6 separate regions of the Homo sapiens genome follow, and regions 2, 3, 4, 5 and 6 are each linked to region 1. Evidence: promoter capture Hi-C in 16 types of primary human blood cells and fetal thymus (Javierre and others, 2016). All regions are on one chromosome and are shown on one strand. The core of a region is centred on a gene start or on the middle of the fragment in contact, and the rest is flanking DNA. Distances in the headings are between cores, read along the strand shown. Region 1 holds the start of FGFR2 (fibroblast growth factor receptor 2). Region 2 overlaps LOC105378519 (a long non-coding RNA gene). Region 3 overlaps LOC105378519 (a long non-coding RNA gene). Region 4 overlaps LOC105378521 (a long non-coding RNA gene). Region 5 overlaps LOC105378519 (a long non-coding RNA gene). Region 6 overlaps LOC105378521 (a long non-coding RNA gene).

The links. The method cuts DNA at HindIII sites, captures the fragments that hold promoters and counts their contacts. A CHiCAGO score of 5 or more calls a contact.
Region 2: a contact is called between a fragment that was not itself captured here and the fragment with the promoter of FGFR2 in region 1, in 2 of 17 cell types (M0 macrophages and M1 macrophages). The highest score is 5.6, in M0 macrophages.
Region 3: a fragment that was not itself captured here is called in contact with the fragment with the promoter of FGFR2 in region 1 in 1 of 17 cell types (M0 macrophages); the score reaches 6.1 in M0 macrophages.
Region 4: a contact is called between a fragment that was not itself captured here and the fragment with the promoter of FGFR2 in region 1, in 1 of 17 cell types (M1 macrophages). The highest score is 6.1, in M1 macrophages.
Region 5: a fragment that was not itself captured here is called in contact with the fragment with the promoter of FGFR2 in region 1 in 5 of 17 cell types (endothelial precursors, M1 macrophages, M0 macrophages and 2 more); the score reaches 10.6 in endothelial precursors.
Region 6: a fragment that was not itself captured here is called in contact with the fragment with the promoter of FGFR2 in region 1 in 1 of 17 cell types (M2 macrophages); the score reaches 5.4 in M2 macrophages.

Annotation. Positions count from the first base shown.
Region 1 is chr10:121,597,086-121,599,878 of GRCh38, reverse strand. FGFR2 (fibroblast growth factor receptor 2) reads left to right here and starts at 1,435. Exons shown (of 18, transcript NM_000141.5): 1 at 1,435-1,917. RefSeq lists an enhancer at 2,229-2,793. The HindIII fragment of the contact is 3,911 bases long and covers 993-2,793 here.
Region 2 is chr10:120,977,172-120,979,871 of GRCh38, reverse strand. The region is part of intron 2 of LOC105378519 (a long non-coding RNA gene); the gene reads left to right. Among named protein-coding and RNA genes, the nearest start is that of WDR11, 130 kb to the right of the region's middle. The HindIII fragment of the contact is 9,962 bases long and covers 1-2,700 here.
Region 3 is chr10:120,926,514-120,929,226 of GRCh38, reverse strand. The region is part of intron 2 of LOC105378519 (a long non-coding RNA gene); the gene reads left to right. Among named protein-coding and RNA genes, the nearest start is that of WDR11, 77 kb to the right of the region's middle. The HindIII fragment of the contact is 3,313 bases long and covers 1-2,713 here.
Region 4 is chr10:120,997,622-121,000,425 of GRCh38, reverse strand. It overlaps LOC105378521 (a long non-coding RNA gene), which reads left to right. Exons shown (of 4, transcript XR_001747611.2): 4 at 864-1,060. Among named protein-coding and RNA genes, the nearest start is that of WDR11, 150 kb to the right of the region's middle. The HindIII fragment of the contact is 2,243 bases long and covers 420-2,662 here.
Region 5 is chr10:120,959,315-120,962,014 of GRCh38, reverse strand. The region is part of intron 2 of LOC105378519 (a long non-coding RNA gene); the gene reads left to right. Among named protein-coding and RNA genes, the nearest start is that of WDR11, 110 kb to the right of the region's middle. The HindIII fragment of the contact is 353 bases long and covers 1,214-1,566 here.
Region 6 is chr10:121,042,728-121,045,427 of GRCh38, reverse strand. The region is part of intron 3 of LOC105378521 (a long non-coding RNA gene); the gene reads left to right. Among named protein-coding and RNA genes, the nearest start is that of LINC01153, 130 kb to the left of the region's middle. The HindIII fragment of the contact is 5,299 bases long and covers 1-2,700 here.

The sequences.
Region 1 (2,793 bases), core at 186-2,685:
GAGGGATAATTTTGCTTAAGAACCAGTTTTTATTTTGTTGCTATCAAATTTCCAAAATACAATGTTATAGCCTTTTGCCTGAGGCAGTTAAATGGATTTCTTACTTGTGTGGCTTTTAAATAACTTGCATAAACGTTTTCTGTGCTATATTTGTGAATAAAAATGATTTTCTAATCATGTAGCACCTTGAAAAATATTTTTGTAAATGTTATGAAGGGTGCAATGTTAGTGACACAGGTGCAAATATGTTTCTAAATCCAGGAAAAGTCTGTTTTCCAAGTCAGGTTTGTTCTCAATGCTTCATCTATCTTCAGGCCTCAAAAGGATTCTAAAGCATTTCTGGGTTTAGTGACCTTTTCTAAAGAAAAATAATTAAGGTTTTAATCTATATGGTCTTGAACTTAAGCACGGCTGCTCAGGAGCTGGATGAATAAGGAGGGAGAAAAAGCATATTTAAAATAAATTATTCCGAAGACACGGCTTAGTGAAAAGGTAAATGGACATAGGAACTTTAACCAGTTACAGCTTGGTGTGCAGTTGAAGAATCAGATTTTGCATTTATGATTTTTAATCTAAGATTCAGAGGGAGGAATTACTTTGTTCAAGGTCTATTTATGGTAGAGTTGTCTTTAGACTCCTTTGAATTTCTTTTTATTAATCCAAACATATATTATTAAACACTTTTTTTTTTTGATGCAATTTTGGCTTTTTCTGAGAGAGCCACATTCAAAGTCAGGCTGTCCTAGTAGCCAGCTGTGTGGTCCTAGGCAAATTACTTAACCTCTCTGATCCTGTTTCCTTATCAGAAACTGGGAATAGTACTCTGCAGGGTGGTTGGGCAGATGAAATAGAATCACCTATGTAGTGTGACCCTCCCATAGTAGGGCCTCCATTAATATTCAGTTTTTTCCTCTCATTTCTATTGTTTAGAAGGACAGAAACATGCAATGTCCTGCGAACATTTCCAAGTGGCTTCCTCTCCTCCAAAAGCTTCAGCTGCCTGGCAACCCTCCCCGCAGTATCAAGCAGGCGCATTTTAAAGTCTCTTTAGCGGGAGGGCAGGGTTAGAGCCTTCGGTCATTTGTTTTCTAACTTGACATAAAACAACGTAACGCAGTCGCTCAGCGAGCCGTTGGCCAGCCTCGCTCGCCCGGGGAGGAGGGAGGAGGTGGCGCGGGGCGCGGGACCAGGCCTTATTCGGAGGCTGTCGCTGCATCCCTACGGCCGCATCGCGGCCGAGCCCTCGCCTCCCGGGCCGGTGTCTCCGGCTGCTCGGAGGCGTCGGGAGCCGCGCGGGACTCGGGGCGGCCCGGGCGCGCGGCGCTGATTGGCAGAGAGGGCGCCGCCGTCCAGGAAACGGCTCGGGTTTCAGTGGGGGCGTGACCCGCCGCGAGGAGGCGGGGGCGGCGGCGGCGGCGCGGGCGGCGGCTGGAGGAGAGCGCGGTGGAGAGCCGAGCGGGCGGGCGGCGGGTGCGGAGCGGGCGAGGGAGCGCGCGCGGCCGCCACAAAGCTCGGGCGCCGCGGGGCTGCATGCGGCGTACCTGGCCCGGCGCGGCGACTGCTCTCCGGGCTGGCGGGGGCCGGCCGCGAGCCCCGGGGGCCCCGAGGCCGCAGCTTGCCTGCGCGCTCTGAGCCTTCGCAACTCGCGAGCAAAGTTTGGTGGAGGCAACGCCAAGCCTGAGTCCTTTCTTCCTCTCGTTCCCCAAATCCGAGGGCAGCCCGCGGGCGTCATGCCCGCGCTCCTCCGCAGCCTGGGGTACGCGTGAAGCCCGGGAGGCTTGGCGCCGGCGAAGACCCAAGGACCACTCTTCTGCGTTTGGAGTTGCTCCCCGCAACCCCGGGCTCGTCGCTTTCTCCATCCCGACCCACGCGGGGCGCGGGGACAACACAGGTCGCGGAGGAGCGTTGCCATTCAAGGTAATCGCCGCGCAAGACGCCTCGGGGAGCTTCGCCAGCCGGGGACGTGGGCGCCACGGGAGCCCGGGACGCCGGGTGCACCGTCCTCCGGGCGGGGGGCGCGGAAGGACTAGCATTGTGGAGGACGCTCCGTGTCCTCCCTCTGTGGCTGCATAGGTGATGGGGGAGGTGGGTGCGTGCTGACGGCCGGCGTTCTGGAAGTTCTGCCTCTGCTACCCCCATCCAGATGCTGACATCTGCTTCTGGCGTTGACGCCCCCCTCCCTGTCAAACCCTGGCGGGCGCATTCCCGCTGACTGGGCGCGTTTCTCCGACCCCAGAGCAGACGGGCGGAAGGTTCGCCTGCCCGTGGCACAGCCCCGCAGGCCGGTTCCCGGGGTCATCTCCGAGGTGCCCCATCCGTGTGTCCTGGGAACTTCCGTACCATCCAGGCCCTGCGGAGACCCCTTTTTCGGGAGGGGGCCGCTGGGGTGGGGCCGGTGACATCCCGTAGGGGTGGCGATGGCCAGGGGTGGCACTGCTGGGGAGGCGACGGCTCCGGTGCCTGGGCGCCCCTCGCCCGCAGCCGCCGTCGGCGCTGGAGGGAGCGCAGTGCGCCTGGGGCTAGGGGGCGAACTGGACCGACTTTTTCTAGTTCGCCTGCCTGCTCTGCCGCAGCGGCTGGGAGATGTCGAAAGCGCAGGCGAGTTCTAACTTGCGCGCTCATTTTTTTCGGCCACGGGGCCGCGCTGGGGAAAAAAGCCGAGGGCCCTGCGTGGCGCTGGCTCCGACCCTCGCGGACCACGGACCTGGCGCAGGAGGCCCGCTCGGGGACCACCAGCCTCCGTCGCTCTCCTCGCACCCCGCTCCCTTGCAGACCGTTCTCCAGACCCTCCTT
Region 2 (2,700 bases), core at 198-2,697, 620 kb after region 1:
CCGACCCAGGGCTGCGCAGGAACGGCCGGGCGGGGCGGGGCGGGCGGGCAGGCAGAGTTAAGCGCGCGGCGGCAGCAGGGACGCGGGGAGCGGCTCGCGGTAGGGACACGTGGGACCGCGCCGGCTGCACCCGGGTGCGGGGCTGCGCGCTTAGGGCCTGAGAACATTCGGAGACCGGTAAGACCCGTCTCTTTGCCGAGGTTCGCGTCGATGGCGAATAATGACATCGACTCCGAGAGTGCTGAACCTGTCCACGCGGCGGAAGGAGTTGCAATGAGAAGTGAACGAGAAAGCGTGTAGAAAGGGTGTGGGCGTGGCTTGTGCGTTAGGCGAGCTGTTCACCTGCACTGCTCAACGCGCGGTCCAGGCGCCGGCAGCATCCGCACCTCCTGGCAGGCTGCTGCAAAGGCGGGTCTCAGGCGGCTGCATCAGGGCTGCACGTTAATTCGGTCCCTAGGCGACTTGTGTGCGCAGTAGTTTGAGAAGCCCGGTCTATGTAACCAGTGGCTCTAGTAACAATAGGAATAATACTGGCTAATATGTATCGAGTGCCTAGCGTGAGTCCAGCACTGTTTTAAGCACCTTACAAAACTGTCCTGTTTAATCCTTATGACATGACAGGTGCAGCATGTTGCTGACGAGAAGGTTGAGGTCCGCAGAGGTTTGGTGCTTTGTCAGAGATTACACAGCTGATGATTAGAAGCCCAGGCTACCATAGGCTCGCATACGAGCACGAGTGCAGAAGCCCCTTCTAGGTTAGCCCTGGTGTGTGTGTCACTTCAAGTTGGAAACTGTCCTTTGAAATAATCAGGGGCCAAATCTTGTCTGCTTAACGTGCACCCAGCTGAGATGGATCAGTAGGAAGCTCACTTGGCTCAAGAAGACGCACTCCTCCTGCCTCCCACCTCAGTCTGCTGGAGATAAACATGTGGCATGTCTCCTCTCCACCGTGCAGTGTTTAGAAAGGAACATCAGTGCTGATGGAACCCACCCCCACCGCACACATACCCTCAGGTCCGCCGTGGCCCCATGAAAGGGTTAACTTAGGGCTCCCTCACTACATAAATCTGTGTTTATCTGCTGCAAAGTAAGCTATTTAGGTTTCTGATTTACAATCCTTGGTTTTCATAAAAGTCAGTCATTCCCAGTAAAAGAATGTGGGTTAGATTTATAGGATCTGCGTTAATCTTTAAAGCCCAAAGCCGGTCTATGACTCACCCTCTGTAATGTTCTTGCTCTAGTCCGGAGATATTCATGTGTAAAGAGAAAGAGTCGGATCTCTGCCCTGAAAAATAAGACTTTTGGGGGGAACTAATTATAATGGCGTCAATTGTACTACGCTTGTAAATTTGCCGTCAGCGGGCCCCCCGGAGCCTGTATTCCAGGGGTTTTATTCCTCAGTAAAATGTGCTCTGGTTTGCAGTTTGGCATATAAGACCTCCACTGGTATGAGCCAATGTTTTTTTCTACCAAATTATTAGAAATAAACAGCCCACCAGTGGAAAGGCAGCAAAATTATAAGCAAGGAAAATAAATCTTGGAATGTTTGCATTTGGCGATTTTAATAAAGTCAGTCACTTAGCCCAGCAGCCCAACTGGCTAAATGGAGCTGTCCTGGTATTTTTACTTTAATTTGAGTTTGTGTTTTGCCAGTGTGAAATGGGGTCAAGGCAAGACACCATGGAAAAAGGCTTTGATGTCTCCTTGAAAAATATCTTGCACTGTGACTTCATGATACTTAGTGTCCTCTCCCCTTCCCCACCCTCAGCCTCCAGCTTGAAGAGCTGAACGTCTAACCCATGACCATCACACGTAATAAAATATCGCCGTCATCAACAATCCTCTTTCCAACTCCCTCCCCTTCCCCAGTGAAGTCAGAATTCAGGCCAGAATCTTACAATGTGAAATACAAATGCTGATCAAGATAACATAATATTATTAAAGGGGACGGAGGAGACCGGCCTTTTAAACTTTCTCCAAAGTAAAGCCAAGGTGAGAGGCCCAAGTGCGAGAGGAGAGAAGGGAAGGAAGGTTGTATGGATTGGGCTGATGGCCAGTCCAAATAGAACTGGTTTAGGAGGTGAAGATTTAGCGGTGGGTGGACAAATGGAGAGCAATGGATTGGGAAGGATGGCAGAGAGCAATGATCCCAGAATAAAAGCCAGTGCTCCCTCACCAAATGTATGAAAGAGAAAGATGTGATTATATTTGCAAGAGCCTTAATTTAGTCTTAACAAGGGTAATGTGAAAGACTTTGACATTTTCGCTCTTGGTTGGGGGTCAGGAAATGTTTACTACAGATCTACAAGGTGTAGCTCAAGGCCCCAGGACACATAGACTAACGTGACATACCTTAACTTTTTCCCAGACCAATGAGAAAGCAGATGAGTGGACAGAGGATTTTAGTACAAGTACGCAGTGCATACAGAATGCTTCAAATCTACCATGTGTAACCCATTAATATTTCAATGTAAACAATGAAATCCTGTTGGGCCTTTTTTTTTTTTTTTTTTTGAGACGGAGTCTTGCTGTGTTGCCAGGCTGGAGTGCAGTGGCACGATCTCGGCTCACTGCAACCTCCGCCTCCTTGGTTCAAGCAATTCTCCTGCTTCAGCCTCCCGAGTAGCTGGGACTACAGGGGTGCACCACCATGCCCAGCTAATTTTTGTATTTTTAGTAGAGACAGGGTTTCACCATGTT
Region 3 (2,713 bases), core at 19-2,518, 670 kb after region 1:
TTAGAAAGGCTTTCTAGGCCGGGTGCGGTGGCTCACGACTGTAATCCCAGCACTTTGGGAGGCCGAGGTGGGCGGATGACGAAGTCAGGAGATCGAGACCATCCTGGTTAACACGATGAAAACCCGTCTCTACTAAAAATACAAAAAATTAGCTGGGTGTGGTGGCGGGCACCTGTAGTCCCAACTACTCGGGAGGCTGAGGCAGGAGAATGGAGTGAACCCAGGAGGCGGAGCTTGCAGTGAGCGGAGATCGCGCCACTGCACTCCAGCCTGGGTGACAGAGTGAGACTCCGTCTCAAAAAAAAAAAAAAAAAAAAAAAAAAAAAAAAAAAAAAAGAGAGAAAACAAAGGCTTTCTGTAGCACACCCAGCAAGTTCCTGTGCTTCTCGAGCAACTGTGCCCACTCCTAATCCAGCATGGATTCCATGGGGCATTCACAGCATGAACGGAAGGGAGGGAGAGAGGGAGGGAGAAGGGAAGGGAGGGAGGGAAAGCAAAGAGGGGAGAAGGAAATTCCTCAGCAAATGAGTTTAGCTAGTATTGGCTGAAACACATTTAAGCAGGTGTCTTTATGGTAGGACTTCTCAGAGCCTTTGAAGTGCAAGCGTGCACTGGGAATCTCTGAGGGGAGACATTGAATGCCCTGTTTTCCCAGCTCATTTGGTTCCTATCCCATTTGTTTTTTCTCAGGAATATCTTGTGGGACTAGTGTTTCACGGCATTTTCTTTTGAAATGCTGGGAAAATAATATGTTAACCTTAAACTGTCACCTCTGGATTCTGATCTTCCTTCTGCACAGATACTCACTCCCACAAACACTGAGCCCTTATTGTGAGCCTACCAGGGGCTGAATAGGGATCTAGGGAGATCTCAGAAGGGACCTGTTTCTCCCATTGGTTTACTGAGCTCCATTCGGCCAAGAGGTAGGGCTTTTACAGCACAAATAGTGACAGGCAACATTTTTCTGCCAAGCTGTATTCTAAGAGCTTTATGACTGCAAGAGGGAAGCACTGTCATTAAGCCAATTTTGCAGATGGGGAAACTGAGGCATGGCAATGGCAGAGCTGGGAATCACCTCTGGGGGTCTGGCTCCAGGGCCTAGCTCTTCACTGCCTGGGGAGCCACAGCTCAGGCACTCACAGGGCTGCCGAGGGGACACGCGTGGGCAGAGTGAGCAGACCAGGTAGTGGGTGAAGGACTCAGTTCATCCCTCTATTCTATACCCCACCCCAAACACACATACGTTCTAGAAACAGAAATACCAGCTTTTCAAGACAGAGATTGCTGCTCGGTTTCATACCTGCCTACAGATTTGAGAAAAGAAAACACAAAACAATGACACATCATTTTTCTTCCTTGAAAGTACTTTTTTCTGTATTCATCGCTTCAATAAATGTTGTCAGACTAATTAAACACTGCAGTTATTAAGTTTTCTGAGAATTGCACTTAAATCGAACACCGTGTGCGTTTGCTAAAGGAAATGGAATCTGATGAGAAGAGGGGAGAGGACTAGTCCTGTTATATGTGCCGGGAAAAAAAAAAACTTTTTTGAAATGTAATTAGCCTACACCTGTTGGTCACCTTTCTAGAACACCGCAGACAGTCAGGGCACTTGTCATGGCAGAGTCAGGTGGGAAGGCCTCTGGTGCCCGGGGGCTGAGGACTCAGGCTGGTGCTGGCTGGTCTCACCTGGTTCCGCTGAGCCCTCCAGAGGCCCCAGCTCTCAGCACAGATGCAGACAGACCCTTCCTGGGCCAGACCAGTGTGACCCTATCAGTGACCCTTTTGGGGACCTAAATGTGTGGCTGCTCACATCATCATGTGGGCTGAGGCTGTTTCAATCTTGATTCAACATTCAGTTCCCCTCTCTGGCTTTTCCCCCAAACCGAATCACATTAAGCATTTGGTGGATTTCAGAATTTCACTAAGGCTTTGTAAAGTCCCGAGGAGAGGCCTATGTCACAGTTTATGGCATTCCTGAGAAAGGTCCCCATTACCTGTGCATCTCCTTCCAAGGCAGCTCAGTGTCATCACAGCAACCGTGCTGATTGCCGACAGAGCAGGGCAAGCACCAAGCTCTGACAACACCCTGGAGGCTGTGGGCAGCTCCTCTCCAGTCTCCCACCCCAGCAGGCTGAGACGGTTCTAAACGAGCCCTGCAATCTGGAAACGGTGCTGCAGAACCACTTCCCTGCTGTAGCTGCTGCAGGACTCCCCTCAGTTCCGATCTTTTCTTTCCCCTCCCTGAGTTTCCCTCTGCCTGCCATGGCTTTGCCACCTTCTTGAGCTCCTGGGGCTCTTCGGACCACACTGAGGCTGGTTCCTCTGCAGGAGGGACCCTGGCTGGATCCCCTCGCTGAGCTCACACCGGGCCCTCAAGTGGCATGTGCCCTCCCGCCTGCTCACTTCTGCCCCACTGTCCATACTGCCTGCAGGGGTCTCCTCTCCTGCTGCCAGCCTCTGGCCGGCCCCCTACCTGCAGGGCTGCTCCCTGGCCCCCTTCACTTACCTACATCTCCTCCCACCTCCCCAGAACTGCTGCCCTCCCCACTCAGTTTCCATCCAAGCCCCAACTCTGGTATTCCCAATGACCCCAGCTGGCTGCTCTCCACTGCAACCCTGCATCCCCCGACAGGGGTGGTGAGTCCCTGGAAGAAGGTGGTGGCTCAATAAGTACTTGGAGCTTGGTGGTTCCCATGGATGGGATGGGGCT
Region 4 (2,804 bases), core at 292-2,791, 600 kb after region 1:
CGTTAATGAATGGACACGTGCTCTGACTTCCCGCTGTATCTCCTGTCTGCATGAACTGGCTCTTCTCTGTTGGCTTTAGGGTCTGGAAGATTCTCCTATCTCCTCTCTGGTGGGCCATGCCCCACTCTCCAAGTCCCCTCCCTGTTTCAGCTAACCCATGGCAGTGGCCTCCAAACTTGTCTCCTGGTCTCCAGTCTCTCCCCTGCTCTGTGCCAGGTTACACTTTGCATGACATAACTCTTCCCGTGCCTAGAAATTGCTGTTGCCTTCTCCCCCACCACCTCAGCCCAAATGTCAAATGCTTTCAGCAACGCATGTCTAGGCCTTTCTCTGAAGCCCTTTTGTCCTCTTTGCCCCCTAGTGGCATGTCAAGTATACCATAGAGAATAGGTACACCAGGCCCCTTTCTTCCAGAAGCTTCTATTCTAGAGAACAAAGGAGCAAATTGATACGTAATTACAAATGGTAATTTGCACCGTGGAAGAAACAGAGAGCACAGGTCATAGAGAAACCTGGCGCGGGGAGGCTTCTATAAGGAGGCAGCATTCAGTAGTGACTCAAAGAGTAAGGAGGCCATAGCCCTCTCAATCTTGGAGCCTCACAACTCCCGGACGTCCTGTTGGCCTCCTGTGCCAGCAGCACACTTTCTGTCACTCAGAATCATGTCTGTGGTGGAAGCAAATTGGCCAAGACCTGGGATGTGAAACCCCTGCAGCCTTCACCAGCTGTTCTCCCGCTCCATGATCACGGGATCCAGAGGGAGTTGTGCAGGGGGTCCCTCCCAGGGGCTTCATCCTAAGACCCTTGGGTGGTCCCTAAGAACCGAGGCTTCCTTTCTACCCTCGTTCTTTCTTGACCTTCAGGTTCCAGTCGAGAAGGCCAGTGTCTACTCACCACAAAAAATCACAGGAAAGAGGAAAAGAGCATCTCCCCCGGTGTGAAAGCCCAAACAGAGGAGTTGCCTTGTGGAGGGAAGCAGTTCTAATCACTCCGGTGCTCCAGAAAACACTTCATGCCCAGCAAGGCAGCCCCTGGGTTCCCCCCGCCATTTCAGCCATGTTTCCTCCCTTTACCCCCTGGAGTCCAACCGAATGGCAGCTCCAGCCACAGTGCACTCAATACCAATCTGGCTTCTGGCAAGTTGTTCCTAGGCACTCCACAGGCCAGCTGAGCCCCCAGCTACATCACTCAGATAAGAAGGTGCCATCGGGCCACCCTCAGCGCCCCTTTGCTCTGCACCGCTGCAGGGCTGAGCATCAGGGATCCCCCCACCCAAGGGAAACCCACTGCCAGGGCCTTTCTCTGTGCTGAGTGCACAGACTCCCTCTGCAGGGCCCGCCCAGGAGTGGGTATTTCCCCTCCTCCCCTCCCTGGGTCCTTTGGGACCTGCACCCTACATTTGCACCCCTTGCTCCTCCTGCAGGCCCAGGTAGCATCTCCTCCGGTCTGTTTACTGTCTCTCACCTTCCTGGGTCCCCAAGTCAAGCTGTAAAGGCGGCCACTTGTGATTCAGGAGATGCCCATTTTGTGCACTGTTTGCTTCTGGAACTTGATTGGCAGCTTTAGGCTAATAGCACATTCTTTTTTAAGAAGACATCTATTGTTCCTTGACATAGGCACTAGGCTGAGGGCAAATATCATGTAATTCCACAATCATCAGCCCAAAGGGAGAGCACTGGTATTTTCCCATTTTTATAGCTGGGAAACAGCGGCTCTGAGTGACTGAGTGACTTGTCCAAGGTTCTGGGACTTGGAAGGGCAATGCTGAAATTTGGATCCAAGACTCCAAAAGCACGTGTGTACAGCCACCATGCCACCCTGCCTGCCCAGGTACCACTTGCCTCAGCCTTTCCTGGAGGACTTGGCAGCTCCTCAGCCTCTGTGGGTTTTAGGAAGTGGCTCAGCAGCAAAGTGGGAGGCAGCAGGAACTCCCCATGGAGCAGCGCTGGCCAGCAGCAGGGCCAGGCTCATCCCCCACCTTCAAGGGCAGAGGCCAAGGCTGGACAGACAGTTGTAAATTCTACAGCTGCCTGCTGCCAAGCTGGGAGTCAGTGTGTGGAGGGGGCCAGAGAGGCTCTCGGGGCACAGAGGCCAGTCCCCCTGGGCCAGTGTCCACGACTCCAAAGCAGGGAACTGATGGGAGATCTGGGAGCTATGGTCAGTCGTTGGGGGAGGAGGGCAGTGGGGAGTTAGATCGTTGTTCTGGGAAAGTTCCAAGAGCCTTAGTCGGCCACTTCACAGGAGACCCGGGTCCTCCTAGGCACCAACCTGAGGTTGCATAGCCAGGGCAGGACTCACCCCCAAGACCTGGCCTTTAAATGGGAGCTTTTATTCACTGTGCCCTGGGGCCTCCAGAATGCCAGCCAGGGCATTGGCACAGTGGCTGTGGGAGCTTTAGAATACCACCAAGAATAATAATAGCTACCATTTATTTAACACTTTCTGTGTGCCAGGCACTTGCTGAATGCTCTGCACGTATGCATCACTTGACATAGTCACCACAAGAACCCTGGAGGCTGATGCCATGATTAGCTACATCTCACGGTTGAAGAAGCACAGCTGGGAAGGGGCAGAGCCTGCGCTGGACCCCAGGCTTGGGATGAAGCATGAGGCTTCAATGGCTGTGCTGGAGATGTTGTCATTGATATTTGCTCAACAAGCTTTAATGGAGAGTGTTCTGGGGACAGCACAGAGGGTAGAAGGAGAGTATAAATCTCTCCCTCTCTCTTCACACAAACACACACACACACACGCACACACACACACACAGTCTGGTCATGCCAAGCAGCCAGATGAACACACTG
Region 5 (2,700 bases), core at 141-2,640, 640 kb after region 1:
CTGCCTGAATCTGTTAGTCCTGTCCCTGTGGCCAAGCCCCAGGAATTCTGCCCTGGCTGGAAAGACTCAGACCTCAGCACTTTTCTGAGCAGTGGGGACTTGGGCCAGAGTCTCCACCTCTGATTCCGGTTCCCAGAATGGCAGCAAGATGTGTCGGGGGGAGCTGGCCTTCGAGGGCCTTCCAAATCTGAGGAATGAGGCTAGGGAATCTTGAGGTTTTTTCTATTTTTATTATAAATAGTGAAATATAAATGATTGTTTCATACAATTTTAATAAAAATTCAAGAGTTAAGGAACTTAGCCCTATGCCTGGCAGAGAGTAAGAACCTTAAAAATCTTCATTGTGAAACAATACATTTCTAATTATAGAAGCAGTTCTTTCACTGTAAACAAATTTAGAAAACACGGAAAAGTACAAAGAACAAAACTAAATTGTTCTATAATCCCAACTCCCAGACATGGTACCTTAGTAATATATATAATTTCAGAATTTTTTCTACTCAGAAATTGAAAATATCTGGATTATAAACTAAATATATCTGTTTTAGACATCGTAAATAAAATATATTAATCACAAAAATGGGCCTATGATGTGTATATTGTTTGACTGTATTTTCATTTTGCATTTCATAAATTTTTCATGTTAATAAATATTCATCAATGCATTTTCATGATTGCATAGTGTTTCATTAAATTATAAATGAACATCCTTGTACACAATCATTCACTCATTTGCCTGATAATTTTCTCCAGATAAGTTTCCAAAGTTGGACTCCCAGCATCAAAGATTTTAGGTGCACACAACCGAACTCCCCTCCCAAACAAGTGTACGGGGTTCCATCGTGAGCTCTTCTCTGACACCAAAAATATATATAATTGATCCTCATTGTTCATAAATTCCATGTTGGCAAATTCTTCTACTTGATAAAATTAACTTGTAACCCCCAAATCAAGACTTGCAGCATGTTCACGGTCATTCACAGACAAGCGCAGAGTGATGAACACGTATGTGCATGTTCAGCTCTCACACTATGAGCAAATGTCCTTTCATGCTCTGTTTAGTGCAACATTTTTCTCATTTTTGTGCTTTTTTCTTGATGATTTCGCTGTTTAAAATGGCCCCTAGGCACAGTGCTGAAGTGCCGTCTGGTGTTCCTAAGCGCAAGAAGGGTCTTTCCTGCCTTATAGAGAGAGTTTATGCGTTAGATAAGCTTGTTCATGCATAAGTGATAGTGCCATGGGCACTGAGTTCAATATCAGTGAGTCAACAGTATACATTAAATAAGGGGTCTTTAAACAGAAACACACATAAAACACGGTTATGCATTGATCTGTTGACAAAAACAGTATGATCAGAGGCTCACAGGGACCAAACCTTGTATTTCCCCTGGGAGCAGTGGGTCAGGACGTGCTAATTCGGTGTTCAGAGTGCCTGTATTGAACATAACCACCACAGATGATGAGAATGACTGTATGTATCTTAGGTGTATGAATCTTTCAGACTGCAGAGGTCTTGCCTGTGGATTACAGACCTCCTCTATTCGTGGACATCCTTTCCCAAAAGCTTTCCAGAAAGTCTCTTTGGCAAATAGAATTCAAATTTTATCTTTTAACTCTTAATGCCTGGTACATAGTAAGCGCATAAATACAGTGTGTGTTGAATGAGTGGGAAAATAAATGTTAGAGGTTGTTATACACTTTGGATCCCAGTTCAGCATAATGAATTTCTCGGTTTCTTCTTTCATTAGCCCTGCCTTTGGCTGGGTTCCTCGTAGACATCTCTGAGGCATAAGCACCCAGCTCACATGTGCCTTCCCAGAGAAGCAAACTTCTGATGACTCCCTTGACCTTCACCACCCACTTAATCTAAAGGCCATTGATAGCATTGAGAAAAGCAGTGACGTGGCATGGATAATCACATTTCCCATGTCAAAAAGTAGAAAACAAGGATGTTATCTGATTTATAAATGTATTTATGTGGAAGAAGAAGAAGATTTGCAGAAGAATAACATTTTATGAAATTATGCAAAGTGAAAGTTATACAAAGTTCAAATTTCAGTGTTCATAAATAATTTTATTGGAACATGGCCACACCCACTTATTAGCGATCATCTGTGTCTGATTTGTCGATACTACAGTAGGGCTGAGTGGTCCCTACAGAGACTAGACAGCCCCAAAAAGCCTGAAACATTTGCTCTCTGGTCCTTTACAGAAAAAGTTTGCTACTCCTTGGTCTAGCGGTATGAGAAGATATTTGGTCACAATATACTTTTAAGTGTACATACGTGTGCATGCGCAGTAATGTGTACCTGCACACTAATGTGTATGAAAATTCTTTTGCTTAGAATAGTGGTTCTAAAACTATTTGGTCTCAGAGCCCCTTTTGAATCCTGAAGATCGCAGAGAACCCAAAAGAGCTTTTTTAAAATGGGGATTTTGTTTATTGCCATTTGCCATATTTAGAAATTAAAACTATGAACATTTTAAGTATTTACTTGAGGTTGAGCATGGTGGCTCACGCCTGTAATCCCAGTACTTTGGGAGGCCGAGGCGGGCGGATCACCTGAGGTCAGGAGTTCGAGACCAGCCTGACCAACATGGAGAAACCCCGTGTCTACTAAAAATACAAAATTAGCCAGGCATGGTGGTGCGTGCCTGTAATCCCAGCTACTTGGGAGGCTGAGGCAGGAGAATTGCTTG
Region 6 (2,700 bases), core at 138-2,637, 550 kb after region 1:
ACATGTTTAGTTTAACATCATTTCAAAGTAAAAAAGAAAAGTTTTTTATTTTTCTCTTTTAAAAAGAGAAAACTTGAGCAGCCCTGTTTAGATTTTGGGCCAGGCAAGCCTCATCAATAAGGCATTTTATAGCAATGTGCTTAGGATAAATGGAGAGTCAGAATTTTGAAACAATGTTTAGCAGCCAGTAAATTGACTAGAAGGCAAGGTTAGTGTTTGCATAGCACCTTAAAAAGTTTACAGTCATCCAGCCTGTTAGAACATATGCTGTCCCAACCCCTCCTCCCAAATGTACTGTACCTTAGGGTTTCTGAAGCATGGTACTGTTGGCATTTTGGAATGAGCAATTCTTTGTTGAGGGGGGCTGTCCTGTGTATGGAAGGATACATACATAGATATTGGCATCATGATTTCTACCCTCTAGATGCCAATAGTACCCTGCTTCTCCAGTTGTAACAACCAAAAAATATCTCTAGGCATTGCTAAGTGTCCCCTGGGGGGCAAAATTGTCTCAGTTGAGAATCTCTGCTATACTCATAAAACAAATCTTTTATCTGCACTTTTAAAAGTAAATGAAGGCCGGGCATGATGGCTCACACCTGTAATCCCAGCACTTTGGGAGGCCGAGGCGGGTGGATCAAGAGGTCAGGAGTTTGAGACCAGCCTGACCAACATGGTGAAACCCTGTCTCTACTAAAAGTACAAAAATTAGCGGGGCATGGTGGCACATGCCTATAATCCCAGCTATTCAGGAGGCTGAGGTGGGAGAATCGCTTGAACCCGGGAAGCCGAGGTTGCAGTGAGCAGTGAGCTGAGATTGTGCCACTGCACTCCAGCCTGGGCGACAGAGAGACTCTGTCTCAAAAAAAAGAAAAGAAAAGAAAATGAAAACTTGGTGATTTTATAGGAGATTACAATGACAGCACCCTCCCACCCATCCTTCTGTTGGCCTTAAAGCACAAACTCCTTGAGTAGAGATTCTGAATATTTTGTTTTGTTTTGTTTTCCGAGATGTAGTCTTGCTCTGTCACTCAGGCTGGAGTGCATGGCACGATCTCGGCTCACTGCAATCTCGGCCTCCCGAGTTCAAGCAATTCTCCTGCCTCAGCCTCCCAAGTAGCTGGGATTATAGGCACCCATCACCATGCCCAGCTAATTTTGGTATTTTTAGTAGAGACGAGGTTTCACCATGTTGGCCAGGCTGGTCTCGAACTCCTGACCTTGTGATGCGCCCACCTCAGCCTCCCAAAGTGCTGGGATTATAGGCATGAGCCATAGCACCCGGCGGAGACTCTGAATTTCTTTAAATATACAATCTCACTCATTCTTTAGTGTCATGAACATGTATGGTGGTATTGAAATAGAAATATTTTCCGTTCTTAAAAAACTGAAACAGATATGTCAGGATAAATGTACATAAGATCCCAAAAGAACAGAGTGTGTACAATGTTGGCCTTATTGAGTATCATGTAGACTCGTAATTTCACATGTGAAGGTAACTTGTTACATTAAAACCTTCACAGGCTTTAGTTTATTTAAGCCTCTGGGGCTAACACAGCACATTTCTAAATATTATGAGTTTTGTAAAGGTGCATGGCGAACAAGCAGCCTGCCGGTGCACTGGAAAAGTGATAAAAATCTGCGCGGAGCTTAATCACAGCTTTCTCGGGAGTGTATATTTATGTGGTGATGTCAGCATGGTATCCTATAACTGGCTGAAGGTCATGTTCTGTGTTCATCTGCACGGGATTTAGAAACTCTCAAACAGACTTGCTGGAGAAAAATGGCCAGCTGAGTTGGAGCATGGCGGCCCCTTCCCAGTTTGTGTTCTCCTCGAGCAAAGGAAGTGAACAAAGAAATCCATCTTTAAATGAATTCAAAACCACAGAGGCTCCATCTTTTGCCACATGAATTATTTGAGTTATTGAGGCTGGCTCCAGTGTCAAGCCGTGTATGTTGCCTTAATGTATTTATTTAACCCAGGACTGCCGCGGAGAAGGCAGACCCACCTCAGCACGTGAAGGTCTGCGACAAAGGAAACATTCAGACCAGATCCTGTGTAACAAACACATCAGGAACTCTGGACGGGGAAAGATGTTGCAAGCCCAGCACAATGCTGGGCTTTATTCCCCTTGTGGAGTCAGGCTGTAGTCAGCCAAACTGTAAACTGCTGTTGACTGAGCCGACCCAGCCGGATGGCCGACCTGGAGGGAGAGGGGGCTCCAGCTCGGCTGCTCAGAGCCCTGATGGTGGTGCGGACAAGTCTGGGGCTGTCAGCGGCTTTGTATTTCCTGTCAGGGCTCCGTATTGGCTGCAGGCAGGGAGGTGGAGTCTGCACCGAAAGAATCTAGAAGCCCATTATCATCACACTCTGTTCCATAAACCCACACAGCAATCTGGCCCACTCGGCCAGGTCCTGGACTCAGGCAAACCTCGCTCTATATCTGGAAGGGGAGCACTAAGGTCCCCGAAGATTGCTGGCATGTACCACGTTCTGTGGTTATGGTGACTCTATAAATGACACACTCACCAGGCCAGTCACAGATTAGGGTAATTCCCGTGGAAGGTATTGGGTTTATTGTTTCTTGGTTGGTAGATTTGGCAATTGGGATGCAGTTCAGTGCCTTTGGGTGAAAGTAGGAGCCCAGCTCCCATGAGAGACAGCTTTGTCTTTCCATCAAATCCACCTGAGATGCCACC